Regions from separate parts of the Homo sapiens genome. Here regions 2, 3, 4, 5, 6 and 7 are each linked to region 1. Evidence: promoter capture Hi-C in 16 types of primary human blood cells and fetal thymus (Javierre and others, 2016). All regions are on one chromosome and are shown on one strand. The core of a region is centred on a gene start or on the middle of the fragment in contact, and the rest is flanking DNA. Distances in the headings are between cores, read along the strand shown. Region 1 holds the start of NSUN3 (NOP2/Sun RNA methyltransferase 3). Region 2 has its middle 2.7 kb from the start of FXR1. Region 3 overlaps TTC14 (tetratricopeptide repeat domain 14). Region 4 overlaps GFM1 (G elongation factor mitochondrial 1). Region 5 overlaps GFM1 (G elongation factor mitochondrial 1). Region 6 holds the start of SIAH2 (siah E3 ubiquitin protein ligase 2). Region 7 overlaps HLTF (helicase like transcription factor).

What was found. The method cuts DNA at HindIII sites, captures the fragments that hold promoters and counts their contacts. A CHiCAGO score of 5 or more calls a contact.
Region 2: a fragment that was not itself captured here is called in contact with the fragment with the promoter of NSUN3 in region 1 in 1 of 17 cell types (total B cells); the score reaches 5.2 in total B cells.
Region 3: a fragment that was not itself captured here is called in contact with the fragment with the promoter of NSUN3 in region 1 in 2 of 17 cell types (total B cells and non-activated CD4 T cells); the score reaches 9.7 in total B cells.
Region 4: a fragment that was not itself captured here is called in contact with the fragment with the promoter of NSUN3 in region 1 in 1 of 17 cell types (total CD4 T cells); the score reaches 5.0 in total CD4 T cells.
Region 5: a fragment that was not itself captured here is called in contact with the fragment with the promoter of NSUN3 in region 1 in 2 of 17 cell types (activated CD4 T cells and total CD4 T cells); the score reaches 12.8 in activated CD4 T cells.
Region 6: a fragment that was not itself captured here is called in contact with the fragment with the promoter of NSUN3 in region 1 in 1 of 17 cell types (activated CD4 T cells); the score reaches 6.6 in activated CD4 T cells.
Region 7: a contact is called between a fragment that was not itself captured here and the fragment with the promoter of NSUN3 in region 1, in 1 of 17 cell types (non-activated CD4 T cells). The highest score is 5.5, in non-activated CD4 T cells.

The regions. Positions count from the first base shown.
Region 1 is chr3:94,061,140-94,064,338 of GRCh38, reverse strand. It overlaps NSUN3 (NOP2/Sun RNA methyltransferase 3), which reads right to left and starts at 1,278. Exons shown (of 6, transcript NM_022072.5): 1 at 1,201-1,278. The coding sequence starts at 1,212. It overlaps DHFR2 (dihydrofolate reductase 2), which reads left to right and starts at 1,423. Exons shown (of 2, transcript NM_176815.5): 1 at 1,423-1,593; 2 at 2,733-3,199. The coding sequence starts at 2,828. RefSeq lists an enhancer at 1,145-1,384. The HindIII fragment of the contact is 2,538 bases long and covers 1-2,418 here.
Region 2 is chr3:180,908,402-180,911,600 of GRCh38, reverse strand. No RefSeq gene overlaps it. Among named protein-coding and RNA genes, the nearest start is that of FXR1, 2.7 kb to the left of the region's middle. The HindIII fragment of the contact is 8,016 bases long and covers 1-3,199 here.
Region 3 is chr3:180,604,385-180,607,583 of GRCh38, reverse strand. It overlaps TTC14 (tetratricopeptide repeat domain 14), which reads right to left. Exons shown (of 12, transcript NM_133462.4): 5 at 2,977-3,106; 6 at 2,577-2,732; 7 at 1,747-1,818; 8 at 1,212-1,331; 9 at 981-1,103. Among named protein-coding and RNA genes, the nearest start is that of TTC14, 3.8 kb to the right of the region's middle. RefSeq lists a silencer at 1,838-2,093. The HindIII fragment of the contact is 437 bases long and covers 1,266-1,702 here.
Region 4 is chr3:158,665,481-158,668,679 of GRCh38, reverse strand. GFM1 (G elongation factor mitochondrial 1) reads right to left here. Exons shown (of 18, transcript NM_024996.7): 13 at 2,294-2,376. It overlaps LXN (latexin), which reads left to right. Exons shown (of 6, transcript NM_020169.4): 5 at 1,606-1,668; 6 at 1,936-2,266. The coding sequence ends at 2,034. Among named protein-coding and RNA genes, the nearest start is that of LXN, 5.6 kb to the left of the region's middle. The HindIII fragment of the contact is 1,442 bases long and covers 810-2,251 here.
Region 5 is chr3:158,645,619-158,648,817 of GRCh38, reverse strand. GFM1 (G elongation factor mitochondrial 1) reads right to left here. Exons shown (of 18, transcript NM_024996.7): 2 at 3,037-3,189; 3 at 2,521-2,653; 4 at 1,871-2,075. Among named protein-coding and RNA genes, the nearest start is that of GFM1, 2.7 kb to the right of the region's middle. The HindIII fragment of the contact is 2,385 bases long and covers 581-2,965 here.
Region 6 is chr3:150,762,472-150,765,670 of GRCh38, reverse strand. It overlaps SIAH2 (siah E3 ubiquitin protein ligase 2), which reads left to right and starts at 2,502. Exons shown (of 2, transcript NM_005067.7): 1 at 2,502-3,199. The coding sequence starts at 2,822. All of the region lies in intron 2 of SIAH2-AS1 (SIAH2 and CLRN1 antisense RNA 1), which reads right to left. RefSeq lists enhancers at 1,507-1,566, 2,085-3,031 and a silencer at 2,077-2,976. The HindIII fragment of the contact is 518 bases long and covers 1,323-1,840 here.
Region 7 is chr3:149,054,714-149,057,912 of GRCh38, reverse strand. HLTF (helicase like transcription factor) reads left to right here. Exons shown (of 25, transcript NM_003071.4): 14 at 2,513-2,610. Among named protein-coding and RNA genes, the nearest start is that of HLTF-AS1, 30 kb to the left of the region's middle. The HindIII fragment of the contact is 5,930 bases long and covers 1-3,199 here.

The sequences.
Region 1 (3,199 bases), core at 29-2,528:
TTGGATAATTACTAGTTCTTGAAATGGAAGCAATACCTTACATGTACCAAAACTGTACATTATCTAATTATGAAAAAGCAAGGTTTTTCCAAATAATTATTTTCCAAATGTGAAGCAAAGGTTAAAACAGAATCTACTGGGGCTGAAGAAACTGTCAAAAGGAACAAAATTAATTTTAAAAAGTCACTGTAGGGGCTAGGCAGGTGGCTCACACCTGTAATCCCAGCACTGTGGGAGGCAGAGGCGGGAGGATCACATGAGGTCTGGAGTTCAAGACCAGGTTGGCCAACACGGGAAACCCGTCTCTACTAAAAATACAAAAATTAGCCGAGAGTAGTGGTGGGCGCCTGTAACCCCACCTACTCAGGGGGCTGAGGTGGGAGAATCGCTTGAACTCAGGAGGTGGAGGTTGCAGTGAGCCGAGATCGCGCCACTGTACTCCAGCTGGCTCATGCTTTGCAGGGACGAGGCGAGAGGATCATTTCCCAGTTCAAGACCAGACTGGAAAACATATCAAGGACGTGTCTCTACAAAAAGTAAAAAAAAAAAAAAAATTAGCCAGGCGTAGTGGCCTGCTCCTGTAGTCCTAGCTACTAGGGAGGCTGAGGCTGGAGGATCGCTTGAACCCAGGAGTTCAAGGTTACAGTGAGCTATGATGGAGCAGCTGCATTCCAGATTGGGTGACAGAGCAAGAACTTGTATCTAAACAAAACTAAAAAGTCACCGGGGATGCTGACATCAAGAAAAATTGGTGAAAGGTATTTGAGAACTCTGTACTATCTTTGCAACGTTATTTTAAAGTGAAAAGTTAATTTAGGGAGAAAAGTCACTCCAATTTCATCGTGAACTTCCTTGCAATTGTTTCATTTATTCATCCAAGAAACGTGTATTCAATGCCTACTATGTAACAGACACTGTTCTAAGCTCCCGGGATACCGCTGTGACACAGAAAACAAATCTCAGCCCTCCAAGAGCTGGAGGGAGTGGGTACTAGAAGTCTGCGAGCTGGACGGAAGGGACTCAGCATTACAGCACTCAGCATTATTTCAGGGCTTGACAGTAAAGCCAAAGAAACGCTGATCTCGCGAGGGGACGAACAAAGGTGATGTTCCCCCATCCCAGCACCCTCCCTCGCCACCTCGGCCGCGTCCAGAAGCGTCTCATTCAGATAGAGGTACCCAGCCGGGCCCCAGGTCTCACCTGGGTCAGCATTGTCCCGCTGAGAGCTTTCAAACAACAGGTGTACGCGAATCAGTATCAAAAAGCCTCCAGGGAACTGAAAAAAACAGTCTGACTTCCGGGATTCGCGGGCATCCACTTTCATTCTCACGTTTCCTCTTCAATTTCTCGCGAGATACTGATTTGCTCGCGCTATAGAATTCTTGTCGAAGAGGCTTAGCTCCCGCGGGAGATTTCGTGCGCAGTTACTTCCGGTAGCTGGTAAAGGCTGATACTTCCCAGGACGCGGAGGTAACGGGCCAGGGCCAAAGCGACTTTCGCTACTTGGATTGGTCGGCGTAGCTTTGGGCGGCCGGACCTTAGAAAGTCACACATCTGCGCGCCTGTGCGGCCCCTGCTTCTGCGGATGCTGAGGTGGGAGGATCGCTTGGGCAGAAGTTTGAGGTTGCAGTGACCCGTGATCGCGCCACTGCACTGCAGCGTGGGCGACAGAGCGAGGCTTTGTCTCAAAAATAAATAAAAAGTCGCATATTGTGCTGAACAGTGTGTATATGCATGGGGCTCAATAAAGGAATGAGTTTTGGGGTTATGTTGTATGATGACTGATTTAAAATATTCTCAAAGCGAAGCTAGTTACTGACTTAATCTACCAAATCTAGTGACCCCTGTTAACCTAGACATTCAGTACCCAAGGATAAAAGGGTGGAATATAATGAAAAAGAAATTAAGTCATGCTTTTCCCCAGACCTGGCCCATGGGGATAATCTCTCCTTTTAATGGAGAGTGTTAAACTGAAGTAGGCATGTAAAGCGGTTACAACAGTGATTAGGAAACAGTAAATGCCCAAATGTTAGCTGCTATTATTTTCACTATTGTGATCATTGTGATTTTTGTCGCGTTGATACCAAATGCGTGAAGACCAAAAGGACCCTCCACTCTAGCCTCCCCAATTCACCTTTACAAGGGAGCAATGTTTAATGGTTCTCCAAGGAAGATGTTTATTACACCTATTTTGACACGAATAGAAGTTTATTTGCTCTTTTGGTGTCATGCTTCAGTAACTATCATTTGTAGCAGCAATCAGCAATTAGAAAAAACCGGTTTGATATGGTCCCTGATAGTTAATAATCATCATTTTGAGTTGTTCCTTGATGCTCATATCAATATACGTACATGCTATAGGTACAAGTCTTATATTCATGTAAAAACATGTCTTTCCTTCTAATCTGATTTGAAGCTTAATATATTTATTTATTTAAACAAGTTTCCAAGTCACCTAAAAAATGCATCTTATTAGAATTTAGATTTGGTACAAAAGACTATGATAATCAGGAATGAAATGATGCCATCTCTTGGATGCCGTCTGTTTAATGTTTGTGGAAAAGTCGGTCTAACCTTTCAGCCTCTGTATTTTTTATAATTTTATAAATTTATATTTTATAAATATTTTATAAATTTATACTTTATAAATATATTTTATATAATTTATTTTTCTATGTTCATTCCAGAATGTTGCAATTAATTAATACAGTGGTATTGTATTTGCAATGTAGGCACGTAAAAAAATTTGAAGAAGGGAATTTCGCGGCATTCTTGGCCTGGCTTCCTGGCGTAGCCAGCAAGTTCGGAGGTGTTAACCGCTGCTGTCATGTTTCTTTTGCTAAACTGCATCGTCGCTGTGTCCCAAAACATGGGCATCGGCAAGAACGGGGACCTGCCCAGGCCGCCGCTCAGGAATGAATTCAGGTATTTCCAGAGAATGACCACAACTTCTTCAGTAGAGGGTAAACAGAATCTGGTGATTATGGGTAGGAAGACCTGGTTCTCCATTCCTGAGAAGAATCGACCTTTAAAGGATAGAATTAATTTAGTTCTCAGCAGAGAACTCAAGGAACCTCCACAAGGAGCTCATTTTCTTGCCAGAAGTTTGGATGATGCCTTAAAACTTACTGAACGACCAGAATTAGCAAATAAAGTAGACATGATTTGGATAGTTGGTGGCAGTTCTGTTTATAAGGAA
Region 2 (3,199 bases), core at 299-2,798, about 87 Mb before region 1:
AAGATTCTGGGAAAAAATGAGGGCTGTGAAAGTGCTCACTGTTGTTATGTACAGGATATTCTATTTATTTATTTATTTAGAGACAGGGTCTCACTCTGTTACCCAAGATGGAGTGCAGTGGCGTGATTACGTGGCAGCCTGGACTTCCCAGGCTCAGGTGATGCTGCCACCTCAGCCTCCCGAGTAGCTAGGACTACAATATTTATTTTATTTTATTTTATTTTATTTATTATTATTTTTTTAGACAATCTCGCTCTATCGCCCAGGCTGGAGTGCAGTGATGAGATCTCAGCTCACTGCAACCTCCGCCTGCTGGTTCAAGTGATTCTCCTGCCTCAGCCTCCGGAGTAGTTGGGATTACAGGCGCGCACCACCACACCCAGATAATCTTTTTGTGTTTTTAGTAGAGATGGGGTTTCACCATGTTGGCCAGGCTGGTCTGGAACTCCTGACCTCATGATCTGCCTGCCTCGGGATTGCAGGCATGAGCCACCGTGCCCAGCCTATGTATTCACTCCCGGCCTATTTTTTTTTTTTTTTTTAAGACAGGATCTCTATCGCCAAGGCTGAAGTGCAGTGGCACAATCATAGCTCACTGTAACCTTGAACTCTTGGCCATCCCACACTGGGCTGGGATGTTCTTTTTAAAGTGTTGATCATCATGAGAAAAATGTAAACAACTAAATGCCCATCAATGAGTAATAGCCACCATTTATTAAGGGCACCTTATGCTAACACTCTATATTGTATCTCATTGTGATCCTTCAGAATTATAATGTCCCATTTGCTTTCTTAAAAAGTTTTCTTTAGATATAATTCTCCCATTTATAATGTACAATTCAGTAGTTTTTAGTATATTCACAGATTTGTGCAACCATCACCACAGTCAATTTTAGAACATTTTCATCACTGCAAAAATAACCCCATACCTGTTAGCGTTCACTCTAGATTTAACCCCAGCTCCCCAGGCCCTAGGAAATCACTATCCTGTTTTCTACCTATATAGATTGGCCTAGTCTAGATATTTAATATAAATGAAATCGCGGAATATGTGTTGTTTTATGACTGGCTTTCTTTTTTCTTTTTCCTTTTTTTTTTTTTTTGAGACAGAGTCTCACTCTGTTGCCCAGGCTGGAGTGCAGTGGCTTGATCTCCACTCACCACAACCTCCACCTCCTGGACTAAAGTGATTCTCCCGCCTCAACCCCCTGCCCCACAAGTAGCTGGGAGTACAGACACCACCCACCACGCCCGCCTAGCCTAATCTTTGTATTTTTTGTAGAGATGGGGTTTCACCATGTTGCCCAGGCTGGTCTCGAACTCCTAAGCTCAAGTTATCCACTGCCTCCGCCTCAGCCTCCCAGAGTGCTAGGATTACAAATGTAAGCCACTGCACCTGGCCTATGATTGGCTTCTTTCATTTAGTATAATGTATTATAGTTTCATCCATGTTGTAGAATGTATTACTACTCATTCCTTTTTGTCAAATATACTGTTGTATGGATATACCACATCATTTTATTTATTAATTCATCAATTGATAGAAGTTTGCTTTGTTTCTACTTTTTGGCTGTTAGGAATAATGCTGCTATGAAAATTGCTGTATATGTTTTGGTATAGACAGATGTATGTTTTTGTTTCTCTTGGGTATATAGCTAGAAATGGAATTGCTGACTCGTGATAACTCCATGTTTAAACCTTTTGAGGAATTGCCAGACTTTTCCAAAGTGGCTGCATTATTTGCATTCCCACCAACAGTGTATGAGGGTCCCAGTGTGCTTTTCTTTATGGGTTCCCCTCTCCTTTCCTGTCCTCCCCTCCCCTCCCTTCTCTTCCTTTTCTCTTCTCTCTTCTCTCCTCTCTCTCTCTCTGTTTTGGCTTTCAGTGTATTTTTTGTTTGTTCTCAATGTGAGTGATTTTGAGTATGGATGCGAAAGTTCCACTTGGGCACAGGCCAAAGCATCTCATACTGCCTGAACTCTAAAGAATAAGTATTGTCCCTCTTCAGGCCTTGCATAGCGAAAACATTTGAATTTGGAACCCAGCCAACACTTTACTACTTCTTCTAGGTAGACTTCGTGATTTCAATTAAGCAACTGAGCCCTATAGCAACCAGTAACACATGTAAGATCAGACAAGCTGTAAGTGTCAGAACTACGATTTGAGCCCTCTTACTTTCCATTTCCAGTGCCACATCAATGACTGTTTGCAGCCTCCATATAATATTCAAAATGGGACATTACACAAACTTTAAAATTTTGATGTAGATCTATTTTCATCATCATAAAAAGATGTTCACTTTAAAGAATGTCACAAAACACCATACATAATCATATTAAAATATATATGCAGTGTGTATATACATATATAAAGTCTGAAAGTTAATATTTCCATATATTATTAGAGGATATTTCCAGAAGATGGGCTAATGATTTACGTAAACTATATAATGTCTATATTTTTTGCCTCATCTGAATTTTTCACAATGAGCATGTTACCTGATCAAAAAAAAAAAAGTTCTTTTTGGCTGGGCACAGTGGCTCATACCTTTAATTCCAGCACTTTGGAAGGTCAAGGCAGGGGGATCACTTGAGGCCAGGAGTTTAAAGCCAGGCTGGGCAACATAATGAGAGCTCGTCTCTACAAAAGCGACAAAAGTTAGCAGGGCGTGGTGGTGTGCACCTGTAGTCCAGGCTACTCAGGAGGCTGAGGCAGGAGGATTGCTTGAGCCTGGAGGTCGAGGCTGCAGTGAGCTGTGTTTGCACCACTGCATTCCAGCCAGGGCAACAGAGCAATACACTGTCTCAAAAAAAAAAAGATATTTTCATTTTTAAATACTATACCATGGAATCTTCTACAGCCACTAGCAATGAAATTATAGAAGACTATCTACTGATATGAGAAGATGTCTATAACTGTAAAAAGCAGCTTATATATGCAACCAATTTTGTACAGGATACATATATGTATATTGCATGAAAATGTATTACAAAGACTTTACCAAAATGCTAACAGTGGTTCTCTTAGGGTAGTGGCATCATGAATGTTTATTTCTCTGTCTCTCTTTCTGTGTGTGTGCGTGTGTGTGTGTGTGTGTGTGTGTGTGTGTGTGTGTATGTATGTTTAAATAGGGATTGGGGTCTCGCTGTGTTAACCAGGCCAACCCTGGACTCCTGGGCTCAAGCAATCCTCCTGCCTG
Region 3 (3,199 bases), core at 235-2,734, about 87 Mb before region 1:
GGTCAAAGGCTTATATGAGAGAGCTTATTAGGGAAAAGCCAAGTAAATTATTTTCCAAAATAAAATACCAAAATAATATGCTTTTTACTGTAATTTATTTCATAGACCACATAAACAGAAATCTTACTAGTAACTAAAGGTATATGTCCAATATTGGCACATTTTTGCAGTAATACACAAAAACCCATGATAAATGGGTGTCCACAAATTTAGTATGATCTTGAATTTTAGCACAGAATTATACCAGCAGGCTTTTTTCCCTAGTAGTTTATGAAAAATTATCTACAGAAAATTTTGGAAATCTTTGGAAATACCAACATACACATATATCACAATGAGCCTGTAAATAGCATAATCATTAGATGAATTTCACAAGTCTGGGTTGTGAAACACCAGAATGAGAAAGTTTGGACATAAAGCAGTCAAAAGATGTTGCAAAGTGCTTTGGGTTCTTAGAAGGAAAAAGAAATTACTATAAAACAAATACAATGGGATCACTTTTGTGTCAGTAGACTGGATATGGGAAACAAAGGACAAGTCAAAGATGAACAGTATCTCTGGCTTAGGTAACTACAGGGTATTGCTATTCACTCAGCTCAAAGACATCAATACAAGGCTATAAGACAACCACATATAAGTAGTTACTAGTTATCCACCTAGTAAGTATGTAAAAAGCTGCTCCAATCATTAAATAGAAGTTCCTATAAATTATAAACGAATATTGCAAAATTTAATCAACTTGGAATTTGTGATCACAAACAGGAATGACTACACAAATAGTATAGTCATTAAACCAAAAACTTTTGAGTATATTATCTAGGAAAAGAGTATTTGCCTAATCTCTTGTACTTTCCCATTTATTTATTGAAACCAAGAGTGTTATAAATTAAGTGCTTAAGAAACTATTTCCTTAAGTTCAAAATTTTTTAGTGGTTGGTTGAACATTAGACCTCCACTATTAAACAAAATCTGATACTTACTGTCCTCCTCTCTCTACAAGTGTCTGGCAGAGGTATTTTCTTGCATTTCTGTGAGTTGGACAGTTTTCTAATGCAAGCTCAAAATCTTCTATTGCTTTGTTCAAACTTCCTTTTGTCGCATATCTAGAGACATGAAACAAAGATAGAGGGCTGTATCTCACAAGCTCTTCATAAATCTTGTTCGCATTTACCTGGTAAACATTCCTTAAAATCCATGTATGATTCACTTACAATGCTCCACGAGCTACCAAAGCTTCCACGTTTTGTTTGTCTATTTCCAAAGCTTTATTGTATTCATTCATAGCATCCACATGGCGTCCAACTTTAAAATAGTCAACTCCGATCTTCACACTAAAAAAGACATTTGTAAAGCATCACAAACACTTCAAACAATATCTAAATAAAATGTTAGTGTGAATAAGTTTTAAAAGCAAATGTCATCAAACTTGGCAAAATATTTAGTTTTCAGAGTACTCACAATATACCTAAGGAACGTTCTTCTGCCTTTGGACATTTTCACAACAAATATTGGTGAAACCTAGATATCAATATACTAATTCCTTTTGAGAAAACTGAAATGCTGAGTAAAACTTATCTGTTAAGTGTAAAATGTAAGACTACTTACATCTATAAAAGAAAAGCTCATGTCAAAAAGGCATCACTTTAATGCATCTCAAATTTGTCTTATTGATGATATAAGCATGCTTGCCTTGCCCTAAGCTTTTAGACTAGATATAATGCAATTGTTGAAAGACAGTCTTCATACCATTTTAAAGCCCAAGATGCGGATTGTTTTTTTCTCAATGCAGAAGCAAAATCATCTTCAGAGAAATTTTTGCTATTAAAGAAAATAAAAATTAAAAAGTTAAACCACAAATATTTTTTAAGTAACTATACTTAACTCTGCTTGACAGGCACTCGACAGTGAAAGTATGAATCCCAAGCAAGAAATCTGCATTCTATTTACATACCAAAATCTTTGAACTTTCGAAATGATTATTATTGTTAAACAGTATTTTTCTTGGCCAGGTGCGGTGGCTCACGCCTGTAATCCCAACACTTTGGGAGGTCGAGGCGGGTGGATCACGAGGTCAGGAGATTGAGACCATCCTGGCTAACACGGTGAAACCCCAACTCTACTAAAAATCAAAGAAAAAAAAATTAGCCAGGCGTGGTGGCGGGCACCTGTAGTCCCAGCTACTTGGGAGGCTGAGGCAGGAGAATGGCGTGAACCCAGGGGCAGAGCTTGCAGTGAGCTGAGATAGCGCCACTGCACTCCAGCCTGGGTGACACAGTGAGACTCCGACTCAAAAAACAAAAACAAAAAACAAAAAAACCCAGTATTTTTCTTTAGCATACACACAAAATTCTTATAAAAAGTTTCTGCATCCTTCTCTACTTGGTTACATGGTACACATATTAATCACTGATAAGACAGTCCAGTCCAGAAGATGGGATCACCTGGTTCATTCAACCTTTGGCATATGCCTGCTACTAGGTGGCTTAGGATGGTAAAATACGTCCTTCAGCTAAACGCAGCTTCTGAGCTTACTGCCACTCCCCTCACCATCTAAGAGTAATACTGATGTACTATACCTTTGTAGGCCTCTCATTAAAGATGGTGGATTAGATTCATCTATTCCTAGTTTTTCTAGAAGGAATTCAACTACTCCTGGATTAACAAATCCCAAGGAACTCTGCATGACATTTTCATAGGACTCCAAAGAATTGCTATTTAGCTCAACACTTCTCCTTAAAAAAATACAAACACAAAAATTGTAAAATGACTAATTTGACATTCCATTTCTAGTAAAGAAATAATATCATTTGAGGTTTAAATACTAATTCCATTTTTTGCATAAGATGGTGTGGCAATATTATGATATGGTTTCCTTTTACCAAGTCTGAAGTAATTTAACCGTTATAAAAATGTGGTATTCCTCAATCCAAGAGACTTTTGTAATGAACTGTTGTTGAAATAATACGGATAAATTACCTGTAGTATAAAGGAAGCTCTTCAGAGCTAATTACACCTAATTTAATACCAGATAGGTGTGGTGGAAGAGAAGAGCTATACAGAGATACTGCTAGCTTTTCATGGTATCTGTCAATATCCTTGATTCCAGCTTAAGAAAAAAAAAAAGAGAACTAAGCTGATTAGTAAGAAAATGTAAACTAACATAAAAAATATAAACTTTCCCAAACACTACCCTCTTAGA
Region 4 (3,199 bases), core at 281-2,780, about 65 Mb before region 1:
ATAACAAAAGCAAGGCAAAGCCAAGGATTTCAGTGAAACACTTCCTGTTAATACACAGTATCTAGACTGCACTTTCAAAAAGCATCACGGTAATCATAGCTCTTAATCTTTCGGGTTAGTCAAGTCAGATTTAACTATGATACTTTCCTCAAACCCTCTTCTAGAACAAAAAGGTTGAGAGAGTTTTATTAGTAGCAGCAAGACAGAATCCCAGGTGTACAATATACAGTCAGGCCTCTCCATGGGTTCTGCATCTATGGATACAAACAACCGAGAATCAAAAATATTTGGGGGAAAAAAATGGATGGTAGCATCTGTACTGAACATGCACAGATTTTTTTCTCGTCATGATTCCCTAAGTAATATAACAACTATTTATATAACATTTAGATTGTATTTGGTATTATAAGTAATCTAGAGATGATTTAAAGTATATGAGAAGGTATGCATAGGTTATACGCAAATACTACACTGTTTTATGTCAGAGACTTGGGCATCCGTGCATTTTGGTATCTGAGGGGAATCTTGGAACCAATCCTCCATGGATACTAAGGGACAATTGTAATGACTCTCCTCACCTTTAATCTGCTCTATAGAGATCCTCAGGGCCACTTTTTATGGCAGTCACAAGCAAAGCTGTGCTTTCAGAAGAGTGAAGTCTTGAGTTATAATCCAACATTTAGCTTTTGTGCTCAGCTTAATACAGATTATTTCCCTTAGCAATCTAAGTTTTGTGTTCAAATTACTATAGTCATGCCATACTGAAACTATCTGTTTTTTCCCTCTACTGTACAGTACAGAAAAAAGCTTTAATTACACAATCACACAACTACACTCACTACATTTTACTATTCTCAGGTGTTCTGGTTTTTTTGTTTGTTTGCCTGTTTTTGAGACAGGGTTTCACTCTGTTGCCCAGGCTGGAGTGCATTAGTGTGATCATGGCTCGCTGCAGCCTCAATCTCCCAGGCTCAGGCGGTCCTCCCACCTCAGCCTCCCAGGTGGCTGGGAGTACAGGCACACACAGGCATGCCTGGCTAATTTTTTGTTTATTCTCATAGAGACATGGTTTCACTGTGTTGCCCAGACTGGTCTTGAACTCCTAGGCTCAGGCAAGTTGCCTACCTCAGCCCCGCAAAGTGCTCGGATTATAGGTGTGAGCCACTGTGCTCGGCCTTATTTTCAGTTTTCAAAAAGAGAATTTCTGTTATAAAATTGGATTCTTTCAATGTAAACACCCATTGCTATAGCTTATCCCATAAATTATGCTTTTCTGTACAATGGAAACACAGAGCATTCTTAAATAACAAGCTACACTTGCTAATTCTCTTAAGTAGCCACCACAACTTGGAAACTAAAAACAGGTAAACATTTCTTGGGGAACAAATATAAGATCATGATTTTAAAATGCATCTTGAAAGAACACTTTATTTAGTGTAAGAGAATAGATTTTGTCACATTAAATTGAAATTATGACATTCAATTTTTATTTTTACCTAAATGGAAATATTATATTCATCTAATCAAAGATGATTTTCAAAATTAAATGTAATTTTTGCCAAAGATATTAAGTTTTAAACAACACGTTTTTATTTTTTGTCATAGCAAAGAAATGATGACTTTATTGAATTAGACTACACCATTCTACTTCATAATATAGCATCTCAGGTAAAGTATAATTTACCTTTATTTGATGCCATTCTGAAAACTGAGACTCCTTGTATAGCCACAGTATGCTTTATTAATTTTGACTCTAAATCAGAATTCATGTAAATCCAGATAGGCACCAGATTTAAGTATATTATAATTGCAGCAATTTAACAAAAGTACTATTCTTTGTGAAGACTGTTTTATCTCTAACAAAACATAAACCCAACTACGTTTTCCTAAATGTTTTCTGAATTTTATCATGGCATTAATTTTCTTCACTTGCAGGAGATTATTCCCTGGCAAATGCAAGTTCTCTGGCATCCACAATACGGCACTAAAGTAAAACATAATAGCCGTCTGCCAAAGGAAGTACAACTGGAATAAACAAAAACCCTAACACTGGAAGTGTAAACATGTCTATTGATGTGTATGCCAATTTCACTGGCATCTAGCTTATGAGGCCAAATAATCCCAAAGTGTCACTTTATATAAATGTCTTGATTACAGTATAGAACTTTATAGAGTCCATAATACAAAGTATCACTACATAAAAATGTCTTTAAAACAGTAATAGTGGTATGTATATCCAAAATAAAAAGCTTCAATTTCAGCCTCATAATGTTTAATTACGTTGCATACTTACGGGACAGGGGCAGTAATGGTCTCTCGAAAGGCAACTTTTGGCTTTCCTGTGATACAAGGACAGCCATACTCTCTTTCCAGCCTCTAAAAAGAGTGGGGAAAATATTATTTAAATTTAAAAAAATAAACCGAAAGAAAACCTCCTAAGCATCTTATATATCTTAGTAGCATTCACTTAAATATAATAGATAAACAAATCTTAAATCATTTTAGTATCTTATAAGGATTAGGTATGTGATACTTAATACAAACTGCTTTTACAGATTTTATATAAATGAATTCTAAGTTACATTGATTAATTTATATTTACCTCCAATTAATCTAACCACTAAAACGTCACCATTGTTGAATATTATTACATATTCACTGGAATAATATATAAATCTGTTGTCAGGATTTTCTATCTCAACTTCAAAGATAAGATCTCACCAAAATTTCTAATCACATATCTTTGGTTTTTACTTATATATCAATACATACAAGACCTTTCCTGGGAAGGTATAGGCCCCATCTTCCCTTCCTTTTATCTATATTATAATGATCTTCAAGTAATGACTTGAGAAGAAATGGCCTGAAAAGTTGGTACAACCGCAGGTTGTCTCCCTAAGGCTTGGACCAGGATTTACTTGACCCAGTTACCCATGACCTGGGGATGGACAGATATTCTTGTTGCAAATCCCCTGAGCCTTGATTCTAGGAGTCCAGAACGTTTTACAAATAAAAAGATTTAGAGATCGAAAATAATTATTTTGTAACACATAGTAGAGGAAGCAGTAGACCACATCTGGATACAAACCAGAGTGACGCATGAAGAACCAGAGTTAGTTACAGACATTAGATTGAGAATTATTGACTTTTAATGAAACAGACAGTAATAAATTGATTTCAACTTAACTTCCTTATTATT
Region 5 (3,199 bases), core at 524-3,023, about 65 Mb before region 1:
GAATAACTGTTTTACCATCAGATCCCCAGATACACTGGATCAAAAGCAGAAGGGGGAAGAACAGATAATGGAGGGCTAGCCAGGAAATTAAATAGTAGGATAGCTGAGCCCACCTCTTTTTTTTTTTTTTTTTTTTTTTGAGACAAGAGTCTCGCCCTGTTGCCAAGGCTGAAGTGTGATGGTGTGATTTCCGCTCACTGCAACCTCCGCCTCCCGGCTTCAAGCAATTCTCCTGCCTCAGCCTCCCGAGTAGCTGGGACTACAGGTGCCCGCCACCACGCCTGGCTAATTTTTTGTATTTTTAGTAGAGATGGGGTTTCACTATGTTGACCAGGCTGGTCTTGAACTCCTGACCTGGTGATCCACCCGCCTCGGCCTCCCAAAGTGCTGGGATTACAGGTGTGAGCCACCGCGCCCGGCCCAGGCTCAAAACTGAATAGAAACTGCATTCACTGGCAAGAATCCTCACTGGAAAAGAATATGCTCTAGCTACCACTGTTTAGTCTAGACTCTAGACTCCCATCTATAACTATGGTTAAAGATCTAAGAATCACCAAATATTTGAAGGAAACCAAAAGCTTGAAAGAGAAATGTGAACTTAATAGCACTTACCTCCAAGAAGAGAGTTACTAGAGGAAAGAAAATAAAATGTAAAGATTTGAGAAACAATTACCTCTACTGATAAAAATGTTGCAAGGAAAGAGAAAGTTTATGAAAATTAAGTACACAATTGCTGAAAAAAAAAGTTTTCAGGCAAGCTAAGTAACTGAAGAGACACAAATGAATATCAAATTAGTGAGCTGGAAGATCAACCCCAAGATTTCTCTCATAAGCCCAATCCAAAATGAGAAGGAGACAGAAAGAATAAGTACCATAGAAAAGACAAGGCATGAAGGTCAGATCTAGAAGTTCCAGATTTTTATCTGCTTTATAGAAGTTACAAAATGGAAAACAAATAAATGGGAGTGGAGAAAAGAATGAACCAAAGTAATCAAATAAATGCTAAAACAGTGTTTCCTTGGAATTCAGAAGAAGATTTGGGGAAAAAAGACCATCTATTGCCAAGCATAAGTAAAATAAGGATAAAAACTAAAAACAATTTACCAAAAAAAAGTTATAAACACCCAACTAAGAAAATGTTCACTTTCATATCAAATATATCACTTCCATCAGATTTTTTGTCATCAGATACACCATTCTCAGCCTGTCCACTACCATAAACTTTACACCTACATATCCATCAACTATGCCATGTGAAACGTAAGTATGAGCTCTACAGCTACACGTGCACATCTACAAAAGGTGAAAAGTGAAATTCTGACTCTTTTTAAAGGCTTTGTGAAATATATAATATTGTGTAAAATTTAAAATGCTATAAATACTACTGGTTCTATCTGGTACAGAAAGGAAGTGTTACTGTTGTCCTAGAAAATATGTTTCCGTCTGAAAACAAGAAAATCTCATCTCTATGGCAAACTACTTAAGGGCATTAATTAAAATGCTTCAAGGAAAAATTAAAACCAAAGATGATCTTTTGTCTAAATAAAACACAAGGTATTTTTAGAATCTAGATTATAACTTCTCTCATAATAGCAAAACAGTATAAACGGTCAGACTGTTTTCTGAATTCATCTTCAACCTCCCTAGAATTTAAGTAATATTGTCCCCATTTTAGAGATAAGGTAGTTGATGAGATCATACCACAAGCCAATTTACTAAAATCAGTGTTCCACTTACTAACTCACATAAATATATTTAAAAAACTAAATTTAAGAATAAAGTTTAATGACAGTGAATTAATCACCCTTTTGGATATAAGGTTTGCTGTCTAGATCATCACATCCTCTTTGTTTATTCTAAGGCTCATTACCTCATTTGCTGCAGGGCCCTGGCTGGGTTGGAGCCCATTCGGTCCAATTTGTTAATAAAAGTTAGAAACGGAACGTTGTAGCGCTTCATCTGACGATTGACAGTCATGGTCTGGCACTGTACCCCTCCAACAGCACAGAGAACAAGGACTGCACCATCCAACACTCTCAGGGCCCTTTCCACTTCTATTGTGAAGTCCACATGCCCTGAATAAGATGAAGTATGAGAGGGTCTTAAAGAGCAATCTGAATTTTTAATATATGCACTATTAGAAGTTTTTGTATCTCTGCTCATCACATAAGTCTTCTAATAAGAATGTAGATTCCTGAGCTCACCAATACTATTCACCAACCCTTAGGTGCAGGGCCTGGCAAGATCACTTCAAGAAAATACTAGGGCACAGGCACCTTTAGAATCAGCTAGAATATGTAAAAGGCAAGAATCTGCCTACTCACAATTTACTTGCACAAATTTTCAAGAAAACTACATAAGGATGAAGTGCTCTAGGTCCTAAGTTAGTCTTCTTTAATAGGAATTCAGTGTTACACTTTTGAGTATTTGACAATCAAAAACTAATTGGGTCACAGTAAGAGAAAGAACCAAATGTGCTTTTGCCAAAGAAGCTGCAATAAAACCAAGAATCCAACTCACCAGGAGTATCTATAATGTTAATATTGACATCTTTCCACATGGTGTAAGTGGCTGCTGACTGAATAGTGATTCCTCTTTGTCTCTCTAGTTCCATGGAATCCATGACAGCACCAACTCCATCTTTACCTTTCACCTAAACACAAGCACAGCAATTCAGACTTTCTCTGTCCCTGCATTCCAAGAAGGAAAGAAATCTTAACTGAAATGGAAACAGTTGCCAGGTGCAGTGGCTCATGCCTATAATCCCAGCACTGTGGGAGACTGAGGCAGGATGATAATTTGAGCCCAAGAGTTTGAGACCAGCCTGAGCAACAAAGTGAGACCTCTTCTATAAAAAATAAAAATAAAACCAGAACACAGATACTTAACTTAAGCAACTTTCAGATAAGCCTAACTGTCAAAAGTCCGCTGTTACCATTGTTTTAATCTTTCAGGTTTATAAGCTTTATTAAATAATAGCAACAAAACAATTAAAATCTGGTTCTAATTAATCCGGAATCAACCGTGAATATATACCTCATGCATCTTTGCAATTCTGCCAGTGTAGTAAAGGACTCGTTCTGTTAATGTAGTTTTCCCAGAATCAATGTGAGCTGAGATTCCAATATTTCGTATTTTTTCATTAGGAATCACCCCTGATGAAGACCATCGGCAGGCCTTCCAATTAACCTGAAAAAAA
Region 6 (3,199 bases), core at 332-2,831, about 57 Mb before region 1:
CTATCTAGCTGGAACACTTAAAGCTCGTGTCAATGGGGCAAGGGTGAGGACTCCAGTCTCCTAATGAGAGCTAGTAAGAAGCCGTGGGGATGGAGGTCATCACACAGAGAGGCTAGAAGTGGAAGGAAAGAAAATGTGTTCCATTAATAAATTCCAAATGCTTTGATTTTAAATTAAGAATGAAAAATATTACATTTCCTCCAATAACAGTAAAACAGTAGGTGATTTTTGTGTTATCACTTATATTTTGTGTCATAAAAAGGTGAAAATGAAATAAATAGAACATGATTTAATTTTTCTCTCTAGACCAGCTAAGGAAAGAGTTTATGTAAAGTTTGCCCACAAAATTTAGTGCTTTATTATAGGCTGAACAACTGTTTTCTGACTCTGTTGAGTGTGCTAATCTTAACTGTTTAACAAGACTGTAAGTAGGAATCAGGCATAATTTAGAGGCATACAGACTAGTAGTTAAGAAGGGCTCCTAGCGTGTTCCCACATTCTCAGCTGTGTGATCTTGAGCAAAGTAACCTATGTCTCGGTTTCCTCAACTGTAAAATGGAGATAACAGTAGTATTCATCACAGAGAGTTATGATAAATACTTAAAACTATCCATGCCCAACATACAGTGGGCACTCAATTAACATTAGTTATTATTTTATGCTCCCTACCTATCCAAAAACTCAGGTTCAGCCATGTTACTAAAGAGCTTCCAAAAACCTACAAAACCTAGTGTTGTTGTGTGTTCTTAAAAAAACAAACAAAACCCTACAGTGGTTTACCCCTATCATTGAGGTAAATGTCTTATTAAGCCAGTTGAGGCTCCCCTTGTGCTAACGCCACACCCCTACACTCCCGTTATATCCCCTCCAAGTCCCAATGCAATCCCAGAATACATGCTTTCACTCTGTGCTTTTTAGCTCCTGCTATAATGCCTGCCCACCCCGTGGTATCTGAAATCCTTCTTCTCCCACGAGTGCTTGGTTATTGGGCCTTGCTCTCTTACTAGAATGTAAACTGCATGAGAACCATTCTCAGAGCTCCAACAGTAGCTGACACATGATAAATGCTCAGGAAACATTTACTGAACGATTGAATACACCTATTAAGTTTTTTCAAGATTTATACCAAATTCCATCAATTCCATGCATGTATTCTTTCTACAGAAGCCCTTTGTAAGATTAAACTTTATTTCTTCTGGGCTCTTACGCCATATTTCTTGGACAAATTGTATTCATTCATTTTAAACATCCACTAATATTTTTAAAAGATAAGAGCTAATGTTTAAACAGTGCTTATGATGGGCGAGGTTGTTTTAAAAGCTTGAAATATATTAAACTCATTTACTCCTCACTGCCCCACCTATAAGATAGGTATTTTTTTTTCCACTTTTACAGTTGGAGGGAACCATTTTTCACTCAGTCCTAACAGTTGGTCCTTACCTCTGTGTCTCCTATAAATTTCCGATTTCTACCTAAGGTAACCCTTTCCCCAATTCCGGAATCGTTGGCTCAAGCAAAGTCTGCAGAAAAACAATTTTAACTCGGAGCACACAGTTACATTTGGACATGCGGTTCACCCCGGGCAACCGTGCCCTCTAGCGCTTCTGCTGGGCGCGCAGGGTGGCCCTACGCCTCGCAACAAAGACTCGGACTTCGGCCGGCTCTCTACCAAGCGGACGCAGCGCCTTACACTGGAGTTTCACCCACTGTCTTCAGAGACCTCACGACCCAACCTACGTTTCTGACATTTCTAGATGATCTCGAACTCTTAGCCAACGCTGCCCATGAGCTCCCTCCTCGGCCTGCTATACGAGCCAGGGGCGCTCAATTCAACGAAGCTTCCTCCTGGTCCGCTGGGAAAGGAATAAAGGGAGCTTACATCCTCCCCACCGCCCCCCTCTTTACTCAACCCCACCGTTAACTGTACAAAACTAGGTCCTGTGCCCGCTGCAGACCCAACTCGAGCCCCTCGCCCTGCTCCCACCCAATGCTTCTCGTCCTGACTCCGAACACAGAACGCGGGTGGCCGCTTCGCCCTCTTCTCCTGCGTGCTGGTGACTCAGCCCTGAGAAGAGAAACCTCTCGGTTTTTTCCGACTAGTGCAGGGGCGCCCGCGCCCCGCCCCTGCCCGCCCGCGTCCGGTCCCACCCACCGTCCACGCTCCCGCCCCGCCTGAAGTTGCCTTTCTCGTTTGAGCTGAGGGACGCGTCAGCCAGGCACCCCGGGGTGTGGCCAGAGGACTTCGGCGACGCTTCCCCGAGAGTAGCCCCCCTCCTCAACCCAGAAAAGACAACCCCGCGGGGCTGCAGCGAGCCAGGCATGCTCACTGGCGCAGGCCCGGCCCGCAGCCCGAGCAGGAAGCGCCGGCGCTAGGCGGCCCCCTGCGCTGCCAGCTGGAGCCGGGCGGAGCCAGCGCCCCGGCGCAGGGTGGCTCTGCCAGTCCCCGCGCGCCTGGGCGGCCGCACACGTGTCCAGGCGTCACGTCCGCGCGCGCCCCCGGGGCTTGCGTCAGCGGCTGTTCCAGAAGCGGGTGGGCCAGGGCTCTGCGCACCGCTGGGGTTCGGGGCCCGGGACGCCGCCGGGAGGAGGGCACCGCGCGGGGTCCGACGCGGAGGCGTGCTCGGAACGCCGGGGGCTGCGGAGTGCATCAGCGCGGTCCAGCCCTCCGCCTGCCGGGCGCCGAGCGTCTCCGCCGCCCGGACCTGGGCTGGGCGCCGTGGCGTTGCCTCGGAGCTCGCTGCCCGCGGGGCGCGCACCGCCTTGACCCGGGCGGCCCCGCGGCAGGCAGGCGCCCGCAGTTCCATGGTTGGTTCGGAGCGCGATGAGCCGCCCGTCCTCCACCGGCCCCAGCGCTAATAAACCCTGCAGCAAGCAGCCGCCGCCGCAGCCCCAGCACACTCCGTCCCCGGCTGCGCCCCCGGCCGCCGCCACCATCTCGGCTGCGGGCCCCGGCTCGTCCGCGGTGCCCGCCGCGGCGGCGGTGATCTCGGGCCCCGGCGGCGGCGGCGGGGCCGGCCCGGTGTCCCCGCAGCACCACGAGCTGACCTCGCTCTTCGAGTGTCCGGTCTGCTTTGACTATGTCCTGCCTCCTATTCTGCAGTGCCAGGCCGGGCACCTGGTGTGTAACCAATGCCGCCAGAAGTTGAGCTGCTGCCCGACGTGCAGGGGCGCCCTGACGCCCAGCATCAGGAACCTGGCT
Region 7 (3,199 bases), core at 210-2,709, about 55 Mb before region 1:
AAATAAGGAGACATGAAAAAATGGTTTTCATTGCAGCATTATTTTAATGGAATATTAGAAATAATGTACATGTTGTCCAGTAGGGGAATGGTAAATAAATTGTAATCTACTTTGCAGTATGATGCTATGAATTGGTTAAAATGAATACACTAGAGCTACAAATACTAATAAGTGTAAATCCCAAACACAGTTGTTCTTTATCTGCAGTTTCACGTTCTACAGTTTCAGTTCTAAAATATTATATACAATAAGGTATTTTGAGAGACAGAGAATGACCACATTCACATAAGTTTTATTACAGTACAGTCATCCCTCAGTATTTGTCAGGGATTTGGTTCCAGGGCCCCCTGTGTATACCAAAATGTGCGCATACTCAAGTCCCACAGTCTGCCCTGCAGGACGAGTATATATGAAAAGTTGGCCTTCCATATACATGAGTTTTGCAATCAGCAGATACTGTTTTTTTGTTTGTTTGTTTGTTTGTTTTGAGACGGAGTCTCACTCTGTCGCCCAGGCTAGAGTGCAGTGGTGCGATCACGGCGCACTGCAACCTCCACCTCATGGGTTCAAGCAATTCTCCTGTCTCAGCCTCCCAAGTAGCTGAGACTACAGGCGCCTGCCACCATGCCCGGCTAATTTTTTGTATTTTTAATAGAGACGGGTTTCACCATGTTAGCCAAGATGGTCTTGATCTCCTGACCTCATGATCCACCCGCCTCAGTCTTCCAAAGTGCTGGGATTACAGGCATGAGCCACCATGCCTGGCCCATTCTGTATTTTTTTTTTTTTTTTTTTTTTTTTTTTTGAGACGGAGTCTCGCTGTCGCCCAGGCTGGAGTGCAGTGGCGCAATCTCGGCTCACTGCAGGCTCCGCCCCCTGGGGTTCACGCCATTCTCCTGCCTCAGCCTCCCGAGTAGCTGGGACTACAGGCGCCCGCCACCTCCCCCGGCTAATTTTTTGTATTTTTAGTAGAGACGGGGTTTCACCGTGTTAGCCAGGATGGTCTCGAGCTCCTGACCTCGTGATCCGCCCGCCTCGGCCTCCCAAAGTGCTGGGATTACAGGCGTGAGCCACCGCGCCCGGCCCATTCTGTATTTTTAATCCACGTTTGGTTAACAAAAATTTGCATGTAAGTGCATCACATAGTTCAAACATATTGTTTAAGGGTCAACTGTATATTGTTATAATTGTTCTGTTTTATTCTTTGTTGTTACGAATCTCTTACTGCACCTACTTTATAAATTAAACTTTATTGTAGGTATATATAGGGAAAAAACATTATATATAGGGTTTGGTACTATTTATGGTTTTAAGTATCTATTGAGGGTCTTGGAACATACCCCCAGTGGATAAGGAGGGACTACTGTAGATAGCACTGAGAGAAAAAAGCAAGTTGTGAATGATACGTAGATACAGTATGATACTTTGCTCACCTTCCAGTTTAATTTTGAAATTAGTGTGAAAATACAATTTTTTAAAAACTCAGAAATTTGCATTTTAAGTTTACTGGAAGATACTCCATTGGTAAGGGATACCATCTCTAGAATTTATTTCAAGAATTTGTAAAAACACTTTATTATCACTATTTTTAAACATGCTCCACAGAAAAGTATTAAGAATTTTTGTTGTAATATATTAGTTACCTATTACTGTGTAACAAATTATCCTAAAACTTAGCCATTTAAAATCAGACATTTATTATCTCACACACTTTGACAGGGCTGGAAGTCGGAGTGGCTTAGCTGGATGGTTTAATGGCTTATGGTCTCTTACGAGGTTGCAGTCAAACTCTTCTTCAGGGGCCGCCGTCATCTGAACATTGGACTTAGGGAGGATCCATTTCCAAGTTCACTCACATAGTTGTCAGCAGACCTCATTACTTGCTGGCTAACTGTAGTCTTCAGATCCTCACTATGTGCATCCTTCCATAAGTTGCCTGAGTGGCCTCACATCGTGGCAGCTGGCTCCACCAGAGTGAAAGATTGGAGAGAGAGAATGAGTATGAGAGTGAGCTTGCACACCCAATACGGAAACTTCTTTTGTAATCTATCTCAGAAGTGACATACTATCTTCTCTGCTATATTCTGTTGGTCACACAGACCAGTCCTGGTGGAGTATGGGAGGAGATTACACAAGATTGTGAATATCAGGAAGTAGAGATCATTGAGGGCCATCTTGGCTGGCTACCAAATTAAATATAACACAAATTCAGAAAACTGCATAAAACAAATGTTCGTCTTAATGAATGACTATGACTATCAGAAAATATTAGAGACTTCCTCCTTGTGACCTACTCTCTGTCATAGTCCTTTGGTTCTTCTCATAATCACTATGTGGATTTTTAGTTTTTTTAAGTGATGAGGTAAAATTTATTCCCTGTTAAAAGTCCATCTGCTTCATTTTAATTGTTCCTAATTTATCTTTTCATGGAGGCACATTATTGCCATCTCCTTATTGACATATATATTTCAGAAAAACAGCTAAAGGTTCTATCAGTGGTTCATTTTTTTAGGAGCTTGTGCAGTGGAGGGGTCAAAGAAAACTGATGTTGAGGAGAGACCAAGAACAACACTGATCATCTGTCCGCTTTCTGTGTTAAGCAACTGGATTGTAAGTCTTTAAGCCCTTTAAAAATGTAACATAATTTATATTTTATCTACAAGGTAGAAAGTATTCTGTTAAAGAGTCATTCATTGGGGTAAATATACTTGGTCATCAGTTCGTATCTAAGTTCAAATAATCATCAGGTGAATTGGATTATGTTTGCTGAATTGAAGAAATTTTTCTTTGAAGATGTGTAGTAGAGAAGAAGGTAAAGGAACATAATCAATTGCTAACATAAGATTTGGTTTGTATTTCTGCCTTTGCTATTTTTGTCCCCCAAAGTGGGAAAGATGTATAGTTTGACTCCTCTACATTTACAGATTGACTGTTGGAACTGTCTTTTCTAAGAGCTATACCAACAATAACTTATTTTTATAACAATAACAACAGTTAGTGAACTCCTGTTTATTTGGTTTGTCCTTAACCTCTTTTAAGGATTTTTCTCATTTAATTCTCATAACTGTTACCCTGATTTTCCAGGTGCCCACATTGAAACACAGAGAGGTTAAGTTGCCTAAGGTCATCCAGCTAATAAATGATGGATCTTGTATATAGTCTCCAACATTTTGAATCTAGAGCCTGTCCTTTTAACACT